Linked DNA regions of Homo sapiens: region 2 is linked to region 1. Evidence: promoter capture Hi-C in human tissues and cell types (Jung and others, 2019). All regions are on one chromosome and are shown on one strand. Each heading gives the region's core, a stretch centred on a gene start or on the middle of the fragment in contact. The rest is flanking DNA. Distances are from core to core; before and after follow the strand shown.

Evidence for each region. The method cuts DNA at HindIII sites, captures the fragments that hold promoters and counts their contacts. A contact is called where the count stands out against the background at its distance.
Region 2: a fragment that was not itself captured here is called in contact with the fragment with the promoter of NEUROG3 in region 1 in 2 of the 25 tissues and cell types used here (mesendoderm cells and pancreas).

The regions. Positions count from the first base shown.
Region 1 is chr10:69,572,138-69,574,725 of GRCh38, forward strand. It overlaps NEUROG3 (neurogenin 3), which reads right to left and starts at 1,285. Exons shown (of 2, transcript NM_020999.4): 1 at 1,073-1,285; 2 at 1-907. The coding sequence starts at 906. The coding sequence ends at 262. LOC101929021 (a long non-coding RNA gene) reads left to right here and starts at 820. Exons shown (of 4, transcript XR_946037.2): 1 at 820-930. RefSeq lists an enhancer at 1-78 and a silencer at 1,336-1,555. The HindIII fragment of the contact is 13,443 bases long and covers 1-2,588 here.
Region 2 is chr10:69,424,553-69,427,140 of GRCh38, forward strand. No RefSeq gene overlaps it. Among named protein-coding and RNA genes, the nearest start is that of TACR2, 8.9 kb to the left of the region's middle. The HindIII fragment of the contact is 7,667 bases long and covers 1-2,588 here.

The DNA of each region.
Region 1 (2,588 bases), core at 35-2,534:
GCCTAAAATGAGCGCACTTTGCAATGCCCACTTCGCGCGGGCAGCAGCAAGGGTTGCGTGCGTTGGCGCGGCTCGGAGGGCCGGGGAATGAACCCAGCCTGCCGCCCCCGTGGAGGCCTGGGCCGGCCAGGGGTCAGCCAGGGAGAAGCAGAAGGAACAAGTGCTTTTGAGGGCCGCCGCCGTCGGCCACCCTCTACGGCTCCCGGCTCCCTCCCTCTCCCTTACCCTTAGCACCCACAGCCCAGCGACAGACAGGTCCTTTCACAGAAAATCTGAGAAAGCCAGACTGCCTGGGCTCAAGCAGGCGGAAAAGGTGGCCCCCAGCAGCCCGGGTCGCTCCTCCAGCGACGCGGCGGGACTCAGGCTGCCAGCCTGGGAGACTGGGGAGTAGAGGGACCCCCAGTCCCCGGGGGAACCGCCTGGGCTGCCCAGCTCCCCGCAGTGCGGCGCCGGCGGCTCCAGCGCGTACAAGCTGTGGTCCGCTATGCGCAGCGTTTGAGTCAGCGCCCAGATGTAGTTGTGGGCGAAGCGCAGCGTCTCGATCTTGGTGAGCTTCGCGTCGTCTGGGAAGGTGGGCAGGACACCGCGCAGGGCGTCCAGTGCCGAGTTGAGGTTGTGCATTCGATTGCGCTCGCGGTCGTTGGCCTTCTTTCGCCGACTCCGTCGCTGCTTGCTCAGTGCCAACTCGCTCTTAGGCCGGCTGCGTCCCCCGCGCCGTGCCCGGAGCTTCCTCGGGGCCCCTCGGCAGCCTCCCTCTTCCGCCTCTGCGCAGTTCCCCCGTGTGCGAGTGGGGCTGGGCGGGGCGGACGTGGGGCAGGTCACTTCGTCTTCCGAGGCTCTGGGGAAGGACCGCTCCGTCTCACGGGTCACTTGGACAGTGGGCGCACCCGAGGGTTGAGGCGTCATCCTACGGCGGGGTCAGAGGGAAGGGTAAGTTTGAGTCCGTCACTGGGCGCAGTCCGCGATTCCGAGGCTAGGTGGGAAAAAACAAAAACAGCCATCCTCCCAGCCCCCGCTGGGTCAGAGGATCCCTCTTTCCCCTGCCCGTCCCTCGGAGGCCTCCAAATATTACCTTTCTACCGGCGCAAAAGAATAGAGAGCGATGAGCAGCGAGGGCCGTGGGGAGCTCAGCGGGCTTCTGGTCGCCAAGTTCAGCTGAGCTGCAGGCGCCCCCGCCTGGGAGTTGCCCCAGCCCCAAAGGAGAAAAGAAGAGAGAATGGGGTCCGAGGCCTCTGTCACGCTCTCTCTCGAGGCGCGGCGGTGAGACCGCAGGGATTTCCTGAGCAGCAAGTCGTGTGCCCCTTGGCACGCTTTATCTGCTTCGCCCGGGCCAGGAGCGTGCCTGCCCGGCTGCTGCCCGCGCCACCGGCCAATCAGCGCCGGGGCCCTGGGGCCGCGCCACGCGAGCCCGCTCCTCCCCCGCAGGGCACAGCTGGATTCCGGACAAAGGGCCGGGGTCGGGGGAGGGGAGCGCCGCTCTGTTTGCTCTCTCGAGGGCGGGCTGGGTCCCAGCAACTCTCGGTTCCTCAAAGAGCCTCGCCCAGTGAGAAGAGCCTCGTGTGGCTCTGGTCAGGCCACCTCAGACGGCTTTGCTCCTAGCCTATCTTTCCTTAGCATCTGTCCTGGAGGGGACTTTGATGCCTCTAGGGTACAATGCCTGCACGTTACACATGGGGAAATTTAGGCTTAGTGAGGGAGGTGGCTTGTCTGAAATCGCACAGGAAGATAGTGGCAAAGACAACCACGAGCTCATTGTCCTGACTAGCAGCCTGGAGAAGGGTCCAGGAATTCTAAAGGACGCCCTGCTCTCCTGGTGTTTCACTGCCTCTCTTCATCCTGGAAGACAGGGGACATCACTGAGAGAGATCCTGCCTATGTCCCTTCCATTCGCAGACCTTTTGGGGGTGTCCGAGCCTCTGCCACACCCTGAGATGCTACCTCACACTCCCCAGAGGCGCTTAGAACCCCACCCCCATAGATCCCACTCCAGAGGCAGGGGTTGGCTGTGCGGGGACCCCTCAAGCGGACATTCCATTACTACAAGCCTACTACAGCTTGTAGATAGTATCCCAGCGTTCTGGCCAGGAACCGTGACAGGAAGAGTTCTGGGAAGTGTGAGGAGGGGAGGAAGGAACCAGGAGTTCACAGTGAGCTCTTGCTTCTTTTTTTTTTTAAACGAACAAACAAAACCAAAAAACGGTCTCCTTCTGTCGCCCAGGCTGGACTGCAGTGGTGCAATCACAGCTCACTGCAGCCTTGATCTCCTGGGCTCAAGCTATCCTCCCACTTCAGCCTTCCCAGTAGCTGAGACTACAGGCATGCGCCACTGTGCCCGGCTAATTTATTTGTATTTTTATTTTGTATGGGGTGAGGGGCGGTCTTGCTTTGTTGCCCAGGATGGTCTCGAACTCCTGGGCTCAAGCGTTCCTTTCACTTCAGTCTCCCAAGGCGCTGGGAAGCAGAGCTGCTGTGCCCCTCCCCCTCGTGTCTTTTGAACTACCACAGCGTGCAGGCACTGGGAGAAGCTGATAAACTTTTTCTCCCCTTAGTCCTCCGGTCCAATCACAGACAGACAGCAGCTGCCAGCA
Region 2 (2,588 bases), core at 63-2,562, 150 kb before region 1:
ACAGAGGGAAGCCATATTGAGGATGGCAGAGCCTGGGGAGGTCTCAGGGCTCTTATGTGAAAAAGAAAAAGGAAACAGGTTGGGCATGGTGGCTCATACCTGTAATCCCAGAATTTTGGGAGGCCGAGGCAGGTGGATCACCTGAGGTCGGGGGTTCAAGACCAGCCTGACCAACATGGAGAAATCCCATCTCTAATAACAATACAAAAAATTAGCCAGGCGTGGTGGTGGGCACCTGTAATCCCAGCTACTTGGGAGACTCAGGCAGGAGAATCACTTGAACCCGGGAGGTGGTGGTTGCAGTGAGCTGAGATTGCACTCCAGCCTGGGCAACACAGGGAGACCCTGTCTTGCCTGTTTTTCGAAACTCCGTCTAGAAAAAAAAAATAATAAAGGAAACAAAACAAAACAAACTTCTCTCTTGTTTGAGGCACTGCATTTTACATCTTGGGGACCCTTTATGATGGCATGTAACTCTAAATAAACACTAGCCTTCAAGAACTTCTTTGATGCTTCCACAGGTTAACTATTTTTGTTCTACATTCTAATAGCATTCCTGTGCTTTTTTTCTTGTTAACATCCTGATCCATCACATGTATTCAAAGTGTGTTTTCCCTACCATACTAGGAAATCCACAAAGCCAGGAATGATGATGACAGCCTTGATGACAGCCTTGATGACAGCCTTGATGACAGCCATATCCTCCCTGTCCTCCACTGTGATTGGCTCAATGATAACTTCTAATTAAATGAATGAATGGTGCGCCGATGAATGAACACACTGGAACAACTTGGATATGATACCATGCATACTTTTTGCTGTAAGTAACAGTAACTTAAACAAATATCTTTCTCACATAACCAGGCATCTGGAAATAGGTGATTCTGTGAGAAACAGCTCAGTGATGTCAAAAGCTCTTTGGGAACTTTGATTTTTCTTGGCCTTCCCCTCATAGCTGCAAGAGGGCTGCAACAGCTCCAACAATCTTTTTATCTAACTGCACTCTCATCCCAGGAAAGGAGCAGGAAGGAAAATAAGTCTCCTTCTAGGCTTCTCTCTTTTGGTCAGGGAGGAAAGCCTTCCCCAGGATTCCCCCCAGCAGATGCCCCTCACATCTAATTGGCCAGAACTAGGTCACATGACCACCCCAGGCCACATGGGAAGCTGAGAAAGGGAACTTCTTCCTTCTTCAGGACCCAGTGGGAATAAACCAGTTCTAACAGCCCTTGCCCCTCCTTGCCCAGGTGGTCCCATTTGGGAAGCCCCAGGGACAATGGGGTATCACGATCTGGTCACAAATAAAAAGCCATGCCTTGTGCTTGATGCTTGCTGGAGGATATCACATTCTGTCTCTTGAAATTCTCTCCCTTGACACTGGCCCACCCAGCCTTTCCCTTGACTCTGCCCATAAGCTCACCTGTTTCAGTGCAATCAGTGATTGTTATCTCTGTGGTTACAGCGTCGCTACTATTTACTGAGCACCAGCCACGTGCCTGGTGACTGAACAAGTTGCATAACCTCTTTGTGCTTCCTTTTCCTCACCTGTAAAATTTGTACTACCTCATGGGATTGTTATGAGATTAAATTAGTTAATACAGACAAAGTGCTTACAACAGTACCTGACACAAAGGGCTAAATAAGCATTTGCTGTTGTGAATTGTTTATATCCTCATTTCACAGATGGAATAAATAACATGTCCAAGGTCACACAGTCGGGGGAACCAACAGTGAAAGCCTGGTTTCTCTGACTCTAGAGCCCACAGCCTTTCTTCTCTTGCTGCCAGGCCTTGCTGTGTCTGCAAGTTTCTCCTCAGTGTCTCAAAGGTGGGATGTCTTGCCACAGACACTATTTACTAATTCATTAATCCACCTCCTCCTGGAAGCCTTCCAGGGCACTTGCTCTCTGCCCCTTGCTGGCTCTGGGAAGGCCCTTCTGGAGAACATGAGAAGCTTCCTCTTGTCTCTTCTGGAGGGCTGGGAAATGTAGGTCCTGCCCGCTATTGTGGTCAGCTGCAAAGACACAACGTCATCCTCCAGAGATGCCCAGCCCTGATGAGGACACTGAAGTCCAGGAAAGGCACTCCCTCCAGGTCAGACAGCCAAGTACTAGGGGAGCCGCAACTGGATCTTAGGCCTCCAGGATGACTGCCCAGCACCCATTCCCTGCTCCGGGCTTCCTCCGTGTGAGCATTTTGCAGAGACAGCGACTCATCCAAAGGAGACCCTTACTCACAGTAGGGCCAAGAATGGGGCTTGCCTGGGAGATCCTGGCCTGAGCATTACAGGGGAGACCATGCCTTACTCATCCCTGACCCTCCACTCCCACTCTGGCTCCTACGTGGGCCCAGCCTCATCCCCTGCAGAGATATGCAGACTGTAGCCTAAGTGCAGGAGTGCCTGTAATACACAGATTATGACACTAGAGGCCAGGCGCGGTGGCTCAGGCCTGTAATCCCAGCACTTTGGGAGGCTGAGACGGGCGGATCACAAGGTCAGGAGATCAAGACCATCCTGGCTAACACGGTGAAACCCTGTCTCTACTAAAAATACAAAAAATTAGCCGGGCGTGGTGGCGGGCGCCTGTAGTC